3 separate regions of the Homo sapiens genome follow, and regions 1 and 3 are each linked to region 2. The links are contacts of gene promoters, found by promoter capture Hi-C in blood cells and fetal thymus (Javierre and others, 2016). All regions are on one chromosome and are shown on one strand. The core of a region is centred on a gene start or on the middle of the fragment in contact, and the rest is flanking DNA. Distances in the headings are between cores, read along the strand shown.

The links. The method cuts DNA at HindIII sites, captures the fragments that hold promoters and counts their contacts. A CHiCAGO score of 5 or more calls a contact.
Region 1: the fragment with the promoter of ADD1 here is called in contact with a fragment that was not itself captured in region 2 in 4 of 17 cell types (erythroblasts, neutrophils, monocytes and 1 more); the score reaches 7.4 in erythroblasts.
Region 3: the fragment with the promoter of SLC75A1 here is called in contact with a fragment that was not itself captured in region 2 in 3 of 17 cell types (neutrophils, fetal thymus and activated CD4 T cells); the score reaches 6.8 in neutrophils.

What each region holds. Positions count from the first base shown.
Region 1 is chr4:2,842,189-2,846,338 of GRCh38, reverse strand. It overlaps ADD1 (adducin 1), which reads right to left and starts at 2,495. Exons shown (of 16, transcript NM_001354761.2): 1 at 2,315-2,495. RefSeq lists silencers at 2,034-2,183, 2,304-2,493, 2,554-2,933, 3,034-3,083 and an enhancer at 3,212-3,723. The HindIII fragment of the contact is 1,799 bases long and covers 1,391-3,189 here.
Region 2 is chr4:2,244,852-2,249,496 of GRCh38, reverse strand. MXD4 (MAX dimerization protein 4) reads left to right here. Exons shown (of 6, transcript NM_006454.3): 6 at 1-2,065. Among named protein-coding and RNA genes, the nearest start is that of MIR4800, 3.0 kb to the left of the region's middle. The HindIII fragment of the contact is 3,873 bases long and covers 1,020-4,645 here.
Region 3 is chr4:2,932,946-2,937,215 of GRCh38, reverse strand. SLC75A1 (solute carrier family 75 member 1) reads left to right here and starts at 2,391. Exons shown (of 13, transcript NM_001146069.2): 1 at 2,391-2,447; 2 at 3,272-3,463; 3 at 3,553-3,649; 4 at 4,007-4,110. The coding sequence starts at 3,293. It overlaps NOP14-AS1 (NOP14 antisense RNA 1), which reads right to left and starts at 1,670. Exons shown (of 4, transcript NR_015453.2): 1 at 1-1,670. RefSeq lists enhancers at 312-551, 354-1,553, 2,811-3,678, 3,771-3,900, 3,921-4,150 and silencers at 1,942-2,051, 2,212-2,521, 2,751-2,970. The HindIII fragment of the contact is 5,918 bases long and covers 1,672-4,270 here.

The DNA of each region.
Region 1 (4,150 bases), core at 1,246-3,745, 600 kb before region 2:
TAAATTCTGTGAAACTATGCCACAGAGTAAAATTGAGACTGTGCATAACTCCACATGACAAACTACCAGGTTTCATCCATAAATAAATTACAAGAGAAAACTAAATATGGAGGGGAAACTATCAATTAAAATGAGTCACACTGTATAGATAGCATGTGGATCGATTGAAATTGTTAAGAAAAAAAATGAGAATTCTGACAATTTTAACACTGGCTGGATATTTGAAAGTATTAAGGAATTATTCATTTTCTGTGATAGTGGTACTCATGTTTACCTTTTGTTTAAGTCTTTAAGATATACATATTGAACTATTTAACGGTTAAAGGATATCTAGGACTGCGGGGATATGATGAAGCAAGATTGACTGTTGAAACTGGTTGAGAAAAGGGGTTTATACTATTCTCTCTACATATGTGTATATGTTAAGAGGTAAACATGGAAGGAAAGAAAGGAAGGGCAGTCAATCTAACTCTAAGTTTCAAGCAATAAGTAAATATTTTGTTATCTTTCAAAGCATTTCAGTATTTACTTTTCTTATTCAATTCAAAGACTATAAGAACTAAAAACTAAAAATCATGTAAATAAACAGTTTTTATGGCAAAATCAGTAACACAAAACTGAACACCAAACAAAACCTTCTCAGTATATCAGATAACATCAAAAGAATTAAGGGGAAAAATGACCAGCTTGTACGAAGTATATTTTAGAAGGAAAACTATCTCACAATTCGGGGACTGGCTAGAGTTTAGACTCACATCACTCAGCGACTCTCCGAAACTTTAAAACCTAAAGACACCACAAGTAGAAAACTAACAAATCATACCAGCTGTCCATACCATTGTAAACCACATCGAAACTCTGAAAAGCAGTTTTGACTGCCCAAATCATCCACTTCCTGAAAAGACAACTTTACTATTCTAGTTTTCTCCACTGTCAAAATCAAAGGAGTATATTAAAATTTTAACGTAGGCCAGGCGCGGTGGCTCACGCCTGTAATCCCAGCACTTTTGGAGGCCTAGGCGGACGGATCACGAGGTCAAGAGACTGAGACCATCCTGGCCAACATGGTGAAACCCCGTCTCTACTAAAAATACAAAAATTAGCTGGGCGTGGTGGCGCGCGCCTGTAGTCCCAGCTACTCGGGAGGCTGAGGTAGGAGAATTGCTTGAACCTGGGAGGCGGAGATTGCAGTGACTGGAGATCGCGCCACTGTACTCCAGCCTGGCGACAGAGCGAGACTCCGTCTCAAAAAAAAAAGGTATCATCGCGGGCCTTTGTCCATTCAAGGCTCCAAAGTTTACAAACTCACTTTCATACAATTCACACCCTCTGCCTGAAATGCCCTCCTCTCTCTGGTGCCTGTTGAACTCCTACTCATCCACTCCAAGCTTGTTTTCACTAGGCGCCTCTACTCATAGACACAGTCGACCTATCAGCATTCTATTTCCTATCCCCATTAAGATCTCAGTCAATTTTTCACACAAAAAATCTTTCTTTAACTTACCAGTAATGCATACAGCTATCAGCTATGTCTTTGGTCTTTGGAGATATGACAATTGCTTTTTGTCTTTCTAAACATAAATTATGCTCAAACCAACAACAGTTTCAGGCGAACCAAAATACGTTTTTCAAGGTGGGTATGCATAAAGTGAATGCAAATTACCTCCCAACTATCTTGAGCCATTACAAGAGCAAAGATAAAAGTCATCCTAACAGGGAAAGGCCCTCTGACATCTCCCAAAAAACGAAAATAAAAGATTAAGAAAAAAGAAAAGAGAGGGAGGGCAAAGGTGACCAACAGCCCCATCGCTGATAAAGTTCCACGATTATCTCTCGAGCGTCCGTCGGCAGATATGGCTTTTCTCTTTTGGCAGAAGCCGTCGTTTTTAAATACGAGAGCCGACAGATGCGTCCGTACACAAACCTTGCAGCCACCAGCGCTGCGGACCGCGGAACCGGTCTCACAAGCAGGATGCTGACCAGCGTCCAGCCAGGGTCGTCCTCCTCCGCCCCCACCCCTGCAGCCCACAAGCCGGCCAGGAACGAGCGGCCCGGGAAAAGCCTAGTCCCCGGGGTCCTATCCCGATGAAAGATCTGCGGCGCCCTCGCTCCCCGGCTCGGCCCAGGCCGAAGGCCCCGCGGGGACCCCTCCAAGACGCCCTCGGCGCCGCAGCGGCCTCCCCGCCCCCGAGGCTGCCCGGGCCGCCGCAGGCCCCGCGGCCCCCGCCCGCCGCAACCGCGGCCCAGTTCCCCGCGCCCCCGCCGCCGCCTCAGCCCGAACCGGGCCCCCGCCGCCCCCGCTAGCTAGCCTCACCTCAGAAGCGAATCGTGGGCAGCGCGCGGGATTCCGGGGTCCCAGTGCGGCCACCGCCCGTCGGCTCCGGCTCCGGCTCCGCCCCCGTCCCCTGGCCCGCAGCAGCGGCCCGCCAGGCCTCTCCGCCCCTCAGCCCCTCCGCTCGCCCCCACCGCCCGACCTGGGTGCGGCCTGCGGCGCTGCAGCCCAACAACGCGCCGTCCCATAGGCCAAGCCGCGCAGCACTGCCGAGCAACGTACCCTGCGATTGGCGGGACCCATGAGGGGCGGGTCCCCTGCGGGCAGGGCGATTGGACTCGCCAGGCCCGCCTCGGGGCGACCCCGCCGGGGCCTGCGGAGGCCCAGGGTCCCGCGCGGAGTACACCCCGGCCGGCAGCTTCGGGCGCCAGGTCATGGCTTCACGGTGGCCAGGTAGACTGCGGCGAGCCCCTGCCGGGTCCGCTGGACACGGTTTCATTGTGATTGACCTCCGCCGGAGGGGCTGTCGGAGCCCAGGGACCCTGCCCTCCCGCCGCCGCCCAGCGCACTCCCCCAGCAGACGGGCCCTGCCCCGCGTAGCCCCGCCTTGTGCAGTCCCCAGGCCGAGTTTTGGGGCCCGGGTGGGGTCAAGGCAGCAGGGCCTGTGGGCCCCGATAAGGCTCCACAGAGGACAACTGCCTGGCCCCCGGGCCCGGCCTGCGGGTGCTGAGGAGACCAGCGAGCACCAGCCACCTCCGCACGACCAGGGAGTGAGCCTGCGGGGCTTTGGCAGGACCAGCCTCAGACCAGCACCTTCCCGCACACTGTCCCTCCTGCTGGCGCATCTGACACCCAAAAAAACAAGCAGCGAGACAAATGGGCACGGCTGCTTGTCCTCTTGACACCCATAGAAAGCTTAGGTCCAGAGCTGGGCAGTGGCAGAAGAGTGTGGAATCCAGACCTCCCTGCTCAGCAGGAGCCTCTGTGACATTGCCCCAACAAGGGTCAGGGATACTGTCTGGATGGAAGCCAGCGACCCCTGTTCTAACCATTTCTGTTGGACGTTGGCTTTTCCAAGACGATTTTTCTGACAAGATCACAATTCTGTCTCATTCACTTCTGCTTCCCATAGTTAATCACTAGGGAAACGCAAATCAAAACCACTGTGGGATACCACTTAACATTCATTAGGATGGCAGTTGAAGAAGCAGGGAGTTGGGCGCAGTGGCTTCAGCCTAAAATCCCAGCACTTAGGGAGGCAGAAACAGGAGGATAGCCTGAGCCCAGGAGTTGGCAGACTTGACTGGACAACATAAGGAGACCCTGTTCTCTACAAAAACGAGAAGAAAACAAAAAGTTTCAAGGGGGGAGAAGGAGGAAGAAGAGGAAAAAAAGAAAATAAGTGTTGGCAAAGATGCGGAGAAATTGGAACCCTTTGTGCATCGCTGACGGGAATGTAAAATGGTGTGGCTGCTGTGGAAAACCGTAGAGTGGTTCCTCAAAAAATTAAACATAATTACCACATAATCCAGCAATTCCACTTCTGGATATATACCCCAAAGAAATGAAAACAGCTATTTGTACCATGTTCATAGCAGCATTATGCAGAGAAGGAAATTCTATTTATTGGGGTTTTGTGCCTTTTTTTTTTTTTTTTTTTTTTTTTTGGAGTCAGGGTCTCTGTCGCCCAGGCTGCAGTGCAGTGTTGCAACCATGGCTCACTGCAGCCTTGACCTCCTAGGCTCAAGGGATCCTCCTGCCTCAGCCTCCCAAGTAGCTGGGACTACCAGCACGTGCCAACATGCCTGGCTAATTTTTGTTATTTTTTGTAGAGACGGGATCTCACTATGTTGCCAGGGCTGGTCTCAAACTCCTAGG
Region 2 (4,645 bases), core at 1,707-4,206:
CGGCAGCTTCAGCTGGCAGAGAGGCTTTCCCAGAAAAAAAAAAAAAACCATTTTTAAAAAGAAGAAAGCCTAAAGACTCTCGGCCTAGGGACGTCCGTGTGTGCCGCCTCTGTTTCCTGTACCAGATTTTTGTATTCTATTTTCCTAGCTGTTGTTGCGTCCTTGTTTGCTGAGGGGTGGGAGCCACCCAGCGTCTCAGGGACCTGTCCCTCCGTCACGTCGTCAAAGTGTGCCTTGTGTCTTGTGTCAGGCCTTGCCCTTCCCACCAGCATGTCCCTCGTGGCTCAGGGTGCCCCAGGCCTGCCCAGCTAGTGCTGTCCTCCCATCTCCTGTGGGCAGCCCCTCCCGGCAGCCAGGGCTTCCTGGAGGCGATGCAGCCAGGCCCCTGTGGGTGGCACGGAGGGGCTGTGACCTGGTCCCCAGTGTTGCCCTCCCCAGTGGCTGGCAGGGGCCTGCTTGCTCACTAGAGAGATGGATTCTCACCTGTCACCTGACTCGAGCCCCCTGCTTCCTGGCCTAGGCGAGGGTTCCAGGTTTCAGACACTGGCAGCCAATGAAGACTGTGCTCGCTGGGTGGTGCAGGCCTGGCACCAGGAGGCTTGCACCCGCCTTTCCTTCCTGACGTCCTCTGTCCTTGGGGCTGGCCCATAGCAGTGCCTGCCGTGCCTCTGGTACATCTGTAGCCAATTCCCATATCATGGGGAAAATTCGTGTCTATTTTCAGTCGTACGCATAGACGCCCCAGGATGGGGGGCCCACTGTGGCGGAAGGGGGTCCCTGGAAACAACTCTGGCACAGAACCTGCCCTGCAGGCTGTAGGGGGCATGGTGCCTGGAGCTGAGGGGCATCCGAACGCGTTGCGGGTGGTTGTGAGGAGGCCTGTCTGCATCTCCTTCCGGCCCCACTGGGGTCCAGGGGTGCCCAGAAAGGAGCTTCCCCTGCCTGCCTGAGTCTGTCCCCCCAGGCTTCATTTCAAACACCGTGGCACCTCCGAGCAAGGCGGGCCGTGTGTAAAAGCTTGCTTCCCCAGCCAGCACTGCAGGGCCCTGAGGTGGTCGTGTCCCTGCCCTCAATTCTTGAAGCACCAGCTCCCTGCCCCACCCTCCAGTGCCTGAGGCAGCTAGGGGCTTCTGCTCTCATCTCTGACCAGCAGAATCCACCCGGTGACCAGTGGTGGCCCCTCAGCCCACCCTCCCGGCAGCTCAGCCTGTGGCTCTTGAGGCCGTGGTTCCCACGTGGACTGGGAGGCAGTCTCAGCCACCCGGGGTGCTGTTCAGCTGCCCCTCCCTGCCATCAGCAGGTGGGTGAGGGGTTGCCCACTGGGTGGGGGCCCGTGCTAGGAGTCACCACATGCTCCAACCTCCCACTGCTCCCTGTCAGGGGCCCAGGCTGCCATCACTGGAGGCTGCAGGGACCAAGAGGCCATCACCGTGTCTATAGAGAGCAGACAGAAGCAGAACAGAGCCCGGGGCTCCTGAGCCTCTGCGTGTGCCCTCCCAGCCCACACCAGTGCTCTCGGCCACTGAGCACCCAGACTCAGGCTTGGGTTCCCCAGCCTTATTGGAAGGCAGCTCCCGCATACCAGGATAACCCCCGCAAACCACATAGCAGACCCCCGCCATCCTCGCAGAGTGGGAGAGGCTGCAGCAAGGCTTTGCCTCTGCAGACCCCATCTTAGTGGCACGGTGCTTGGGCCTGTGTCCCCGGGTGGTGGAACCCTGTACCGGTCTGTGGCCCTAGGGTCCCTGCTCTGTCTGCCCCGGCCCGTGCTGTCCGCTGGGTGAGGCAGGCTCCCCCGTGCCCTGCCTCCCTCTGTCAGGGAACCTGGGACCCCCTCCCCACTGCCTGCACAGAGGACCCTGACCCTCGGCCAGCAGGGTGGCCCCAGGTCCATGTTGGGCACTAGGGCAGGTTCCGTGCCAGAGTCGGGGGCCACACGAGGGCCTGGTGCCGGTGAGGGGGGCGTGCGCTAGAGGGGGAAAGGGGCCCCCGGCCACCTGTCCACCGTGTGGGCCGTGCTGTGTCCTTATGTCATTGTAATATAAATACAGATTTTTATATCTCACCCTGCTGGCTCCGGCTCTTTCTGTGGTTGTCACTGTCAGCGTGCTTCGCGCCCTGCCCTCGGCCTCCAAGCAGAAAGCCTGGCCCAATGGCACCACGCCATGTGGCCTTCGGGCCGTGGCCCTCGTTGCCCTACCACAGCCTCTTTCCTGGGAGGCCTGACGGAGCACGGCACCCCGTGCCGCCAACCACACCGGGCCCGCCGTCACAGCTGCCTCCCTGGATGCTGTGGCGCCTGGAGCTGGGTGAAGGTGGGGTTGAGGTGGGCGCCCCCATGGGCCTGTTGGCCAACTGGATGCTCTTGTTGCTCTTGTCCCAGAGGCACTGGGACTTTGCCTCTGGCCCTTGTGCTGGGGCCCTGCTGGCCGAGGACAGCCCGCTCCCTGGGGTGCTCCGTGCCAGCCAGGAGCCCTCTGCACAGAGGCTGCTGGCTCTCAGAGCTGCACTGTGAGAATCGCTCTGTACCTGTTCCCAGAACTACCTGGGCACGGCTTCTGCTTCCTGTCATGGGGACCTGCCGTGCTGAGGTGAAGCGAGATGGTGTAGCCAGCTGTCCCCTTGTGCTGGTGGTGACCACGGAGACACAGGCTCCTGTCGTGCCCATCACGGGGTGGTTGTGAGGCGATGAGACTTCACGCAGTGGGGAGAAGAGGCCTTGTTCTCACCCAAGCAAGCCAGGCTGGCTGCCCGCTCCCCCACAGGGAGGCCTTTTGGAGGGAACCCCCTTGGAAGCAGAGACCTCTGATCTGCCGAGGGCCGGGGTTGGTGGGGGTGTGGGCCCAGCTACCCTGGTGCACAGGGAGGAGTCCTGGGGGCCCCAGCAGTGGGCAGCTGAGAGAGGACATGCCTGCCTTGAGTGCTGGAGAATTGATGGAGCTGGGTGGTCATACGGGGGGTCCTGAGTGTGAGGTCGCCACACTGTGCACACGGCAGCTATGCACTGGAGGTGGCCCAGTGGGACCCGCCAGCAGGTTGTGGGGTGGCCATGGAGGGTAACTGCTGGGGGCCTCAGGGAGGAATCTGAGCTCCCCTAACCCCCAGCAGCAGAGTCCGGATCGTTGAACCTGTGTGGGCCCCAGGGCCCTCGAGGCCATTAGCGGGGGCACCCCAGGAAAGAAAGCAGTTCCTCCTGGGAATGTGGCTGGGGCCTCAGAGACACCAGGATTTGGCCATTCATGTAAATGTGGACATTTAAATCCCAAATATTAGGATTTGGGATCACCACTACCGTTTTCTATCGAGGGCATGCAGGTGCCAGGGGCTGTGCCCAGTTCCATGTATGATTGGTGCCTGGTACCATCATGCTGGGCCCTTCTCACAGGTGGCACACTGAGATTTGGAGACGCACCCCTCCCCTGCTCACCAGGCTGGCGGGTGGGATACCTGGGACAGGACCCCTGTCCTTTGGGAAGCCCTTGATTCTCCCAGCAGAGTCCATCTCTGTTTTCCATCTTTGTGCTTGTTGGGTTACAGCAAGTCCCCCTCCAAGTAGGACCCTGCCTGCAGCCTCCTACCCACCCTCTTCTTGGCAGCCTGAATGACCTTAAAGGTCTCCTTGCTCACCTCCCTAAAGTCCTCCTCTGGGTCCCCATGGCCTCCAGATTAAACTGAAACACCGCGTTTTGTCCTTCAGCTCAGTCCGGCCCACCCCTGCCCTGGCTTCAGCCCCCACTCCCACCTGCTCCCTGCATTCACCAGCTCAGGCACAGCCTCCTCTGGGAAGTGGGCCCTGAGCCCCCTATATCCCTTCCCACCACATTTTTGCTGAGATTATGGTCACCCAAATTAGGCGCTGGAATCATCTGGGCTAATCGCCACAGGGCCTTCTCGCATTGCTCCTTCCTCCTTTCCTAGTCCTTGGCCAGGTCAGCCCTGTACACACTGGCCTCATGGGGATCTTTCTAGAATGTAAATGGTTATGCCACTGGCCTGCTGAGCCTCAGGGGTTCACAACTCCTCTTCCTGTCCTGAGGCCCTTTCTGACACCCCACCAGTCCCAGGCTCTGCTGCCAGCCCTTGTGGTTCCCATTCCTCCCCACTTCAAAGGCCCTCTCCACGTGGCCACCTTGGTGAATGAACTCTGTCACCTCCTTTGGGCTTGTGCTGACCCAAACCTGCTCCTGAGTCTGGGGACTGAGTTCTCGCTTTGTCACATGAATGTCAACAGGATGGAAAACAAACTCTTTCCCAACCCTATAGTCTTCTACTTTCTTCTTAACAGGAAGGATTAGTGGGAAGAATAGGAAGAAATGCCACTCCCTACTCAGCTGGAAACCCCGGAGTGTCTCGGACCCAGGCTAGTCATCAGGCCCCAGGCTTTGCCAGCTCCTGCAGCTCTCTCTGTCCAGCTCTCTCCTCCTCTCCTACATGCTGCAAGAGTGGTCCTGTATCTTGTCTCTTACCACCTTTTGTCATTTTTCATCTTGCAGAATTATGCTTCTAACACACATCTGAGAATTCACTCTCCTGCTTGAAAACAGCCCCCATTCTCCATTGCTTGCAGAATAGAGTCCCACAAAATTCATGGAAAACTACATCTAAAAGAAATAATCTTTAGCATCTGACTGTTACTTCTAAAGTT
Region 3 (4,270 bases), core at 1,142-3,641, 690 kb before region 2:
CGACTGGGGAGGTGAGGAAGGTGACAAGGACCCAGTTCCAGCTTCTAACGGGGTGTGGGATCTTTGAGCAAGGAAGAAGATGCTAGGGAGAATGAGTCTGGCTTTGTTCTTGTTGGGAGGTGTTCAAGCCATGGCTGGACCAGAGCATGAGCCATCCTCAGTGTGAGAGGCAGTTACTGCCGCGGTTGGGCTGCCTGGTAGGCCTGGAGCTCAAAATGAGTCAGTCTCTCTCTGGAAAGCGCAAGACAGAGACAGCGCTGGTGGCAGCTGGGCTGAAGCCAGCAGCTTGGAGATGAGGCTCAGGCCCTGACGGGGGAAATCTTACCCAGCCTCCCCAGATGGCTCAGAGACAGGTCTGGCAGGTGCACGGATCCACAAATCTAGAAGAGTCTGGGGTTGTCACATCCACCAACTAGGCTGGCTGTCTATATACACTTTGTCACTGTGTAGGCCCAGGATTTCACCCATCTACAAATTTTCTCTGCCACACGGCTACTGCCACTTTAATTCACCAAGCCAAGCCTTTGCACTCAGGACCCTGGCCCAACCCTCTTTGGCCAAGCAAAGAGGAAACGAGAACAGGACAGAAAAAAAAGTGGGACCGGACCAGGCACCTGGCTGTCCATTGAGGCCTTGCTATGCGATCCAGGACGGAAGGTGCCGGCAGCAAGCTCATACACTCTAGCTGCGTGTCATGTCATTGAAGAGGGCGCGTGATCCAGCTGGAAGGGTGGATAAAAGTGTAACTGCCCAGTGGGTTCACCTTCCCTGTTACCTAGACAGCCAATTTATCAAGAAAGGGCATTTGCAACAGAGAAAAGGTAATTCACGCAGAGCTAGCTGTGTGGGAGACTGGAGTTTTATTATTACTCGGTCTCCCTGAGCATCTGGGGTTTGGAGTTTTTAAAGATAAGCTGGTGGGTGGGGGGCAGCCAGTGAGTCAGAAGTACCCATTGGTCAGGTCAGAGATGAAATCACAGGGAGTCGAAGCTGTTTTCGCACTGAGTCAGTTCCTGGGTGCCACAACATCAGATGAGCCTGGGTGGTGCCAGGTGACCCACCAAGTGCTGATCTTAGGCTTTACGATGGTGATGTTATCGCCAGGAGCAGTTTGGGGAGGGTCAGAATCCTGTAGCCTCCCGCTGCGTGACTCTTCAACCGTAGTTTCTAATCTTGTGGCTAATCTGTTGGTCCCACAAAAGCAGGCTAATCCCCAGGAAAGGTTTCCTTTGGGAAAGGGCTGTTATCATCTTTGTTTTAAACTAAGTTCCTCCCACAGTTCAACCTGCGTGCAGCAGTAAACAAGGAGGGCATGGAGGTTAGAAGCAAAATGGAGCTGGTTATCTCACTGTCGGCAAATTTTGCAATGGCAGTTTCATAGAGATGCCTGTCCTCTGGGAAAAAAGCTAATAACAGGTTGTCTTTTTGGCTGCAGGTGGAAAACTGCATCTATTAGGAAGAGGTGGGGCTTTGTTCTTACCCACAATTGGAAGTTCTCTATGGAGTAAAGGCGGTATGTGTGCCACCTGATTCCTTTCCCCATGTGTATCTGGTTAGGGTCGGCCACGTGAGATCCGCAAGCATTTTAGAAGGTGGGAGGGGAGGTGGGAGCTGGCTACAGGCCAGGCGTTGGCGTGGTTCCGTGAGTGTGCTCCAGCCAGGCCCAAAGCTTCTCCTGCCCAGAGGGACCGTTTCCTCCAGCGTGGGTCGGGTGCTTCTGCGCCCGGAAAGAGCGCCAGCTCCTCCTTCGGGTGACCCAGGGAGCGGGGCTGCAGGCAAAGGCGCAGGCGGCCAAAAAGGTGCCAACCGGGTCCTGTGGCTTTCAGTTGTCTCTGCCCACCCAATTCACACCATCTTTCCCCCTCAGCCGCCTGTCCTGGGACTTCAGGCTCAGCACCAAACGCAGCAAAAGTAGGTGCACAGAGAGCGGGGTCAGCTCACGCAGCCCGAGCAGAATGGCTGTGCTGCCGCCCCAGGCCCGCGGCCACCGCTGTGTGTGTGGCAGGAGTCAGCCCCCCAGCGTGGGGCCCCGAAGCCCGCGGTCCTTCCACGGGGAGGGCCAGGCCCGCAGGGCGCAGACGATGGGGGACAGGCTGCGCCAGCGCTCGCCTGAGGCCCCGCACACAAACCTCAGGCCCATGGGTCCGCTCCGCGGGGCAGGCGTCGTGGGCCCAAGGAGGCCAGGCCAGGAGTCTCGGCCTCGGGGTTACGCGGCGGCGGGCAGCTCTTCCGCTCCGCTCAGGGTGCTGCTAACCCACAGCCAAGCAGCGACCCGCAGGACCGGCGAGAACCCCGCCACTGACTCCGGCCGGAAGAGAACGTGCAGAGATGTACGTCACTTCCGGGGCGTGGCGTGGCCGGGCGTGGCCGTCCCGCCCCTGGCGGCGTGCCTGGTGCCCTGTTCCGCGTCTGTGCGACCGTCCGTCCCGAGCGCGCAGCCGCGGCAGGTGCGGGGCGGGACCGGGGGCGCCCGGGGTGGGGGGCGTAGGGGGCGCTCGGGTTGGGGGTGGGACAGGGGACGCGCGGGGTGGGGGAGGAGACGGGACCCGGGGTACGCGGGGGTGGGGCGGGTGAGAGGTGCGCAGGGTAGGGGAGTAGGGGGCGCGCGGGGTGTGGGGCTGGACCAGGGGCGCGCGGGGTGGGGGCGGTGGGAGGCGCGCGGCGTGGGGGTTAGAGGGCGCGCAGGGTGGGGGACGGGACCGGGGACGCGCAGGGTGGGGGGCGGGACCGGGGGCGCGCGGGGTGGGGGCGGGACCGGGACGCACGCGGGATGGCGGAGTGGGAGGCGCGCGGGGTTGGGGGTGCTCCTGCGTCCGGTGTGCACCCCATGGCCCCCGCCAGGGAGACCGAGTCCGGGCCAGGGGCCGGAATCGCGGGGCGCGGGCCGGGGCTGGGGTTGGGGTTGGGATCGGGATCGGGATCGGGATCGGGATCCGGGTTCCCCGCGGCTTCAAGTTTTCTCTCGCTGTTACGAGGGCGTGGGAGGCGCGGCCGTGGGGTGGGGTGGGGCCAGGTCCGCGATGTGCTCACCCTGGTCTCTCAGGACCGTTGCCTTTGCGGCTATTTTTTGTGCAATCCCCGAAGCCTGCGTTTCCTGCTGCCTGGGTTCGGGGCGGGGGCATCGCGCAGGCCAGAACGGCCCCTGCGTCCGTAGGCCAGAGCCCCTGCCATCAGCCCCTTTAGGGTGCTCGCCGGCTGTCGGGTGTGGGGGTATGCCAGGCCCCGGAGGACTCGGCTTCCCCGCTAACCCGACCCGCCGCACCCCACCCAGGCCAGGTCAGAGCAGCCCACCATGGGATGGGGAGGGGGTGGAGGCTGCACCCCGCGCCCACCCATCCACCAGCAGCCGCCGGAGCGCCGCGTGGTCACCGTTGTCTTTCTCGGCCTCCTGCTGGACCTCCTGGCCTTCACGCTGCTGCTGCCCCTGCTGCCCGGGCTGTTGGAGAGCCACGGCCGTGCCCACGTGAGTCCTTGCCCTGCGGCCCACAGTGCCCCCTGCCCCCCAGGCCCATCAGACCTCCCCAGCCCTTATCGTGATTCCTCATCCCCTAGGACCCCCTCTATGGCTCCTGGCAGGGCGGGGTGGACTGGTTTGCCACCGCCATCGGGATGCCAGTGGAGAAGAGGTACAACAGTGTCCTGTTCGGAGGTATGGCTGGCTCTGTGCCCTTGGCGGGCTCTCTACGGTCCTATGTTTGGTGGACGTGGTCCAGCCCAGGCCCCTCCCCAATTCTCGGTCCTTGCCTTCCCACTCCCTGGGCTGGCATGTCTGGTGCCCTTGCCCACATGTCCTGGCTTCTGGGCATGATCCCTTGCCTCCGCGTGTCACGTTCAGATCCTTCCTCATCTCTCCATTGGGGCCCCCTCGGCTCAAGGGCCATGGCCTGTGAGTGTAGGGCCCAGCATGACTGGACCCTCAGGACGGGGCTGGACATTGGCCTTGAGGGCCCCAAGACCACAGCTCATGGTGCCAGGCAGCCCCATGATGGTGACATCTGTCTCTCAGGTCTCATTGGCTCGGCATTCTCTGTCCTGCAGTTTCTGTGTGCGCCACTCACTGGGGCCACCTCTGACTGCTTGGGGAGGCGCCCGGTGATGCTGCTGTGCCTGGTATGTTCCTGGGCCTGGGTGCCCATGGGGAAGCCTCCTCCCACCCAGCCAGTAGCCCCATGGGGTTAGGTGGGGAGAGGGAGGTGGCTGTGGGCCCCTCATGGCCACTGGTTGGCCCTCATCGCATCCTGGAGGGGGTTCTCGGGGGACCAGTGGCTCC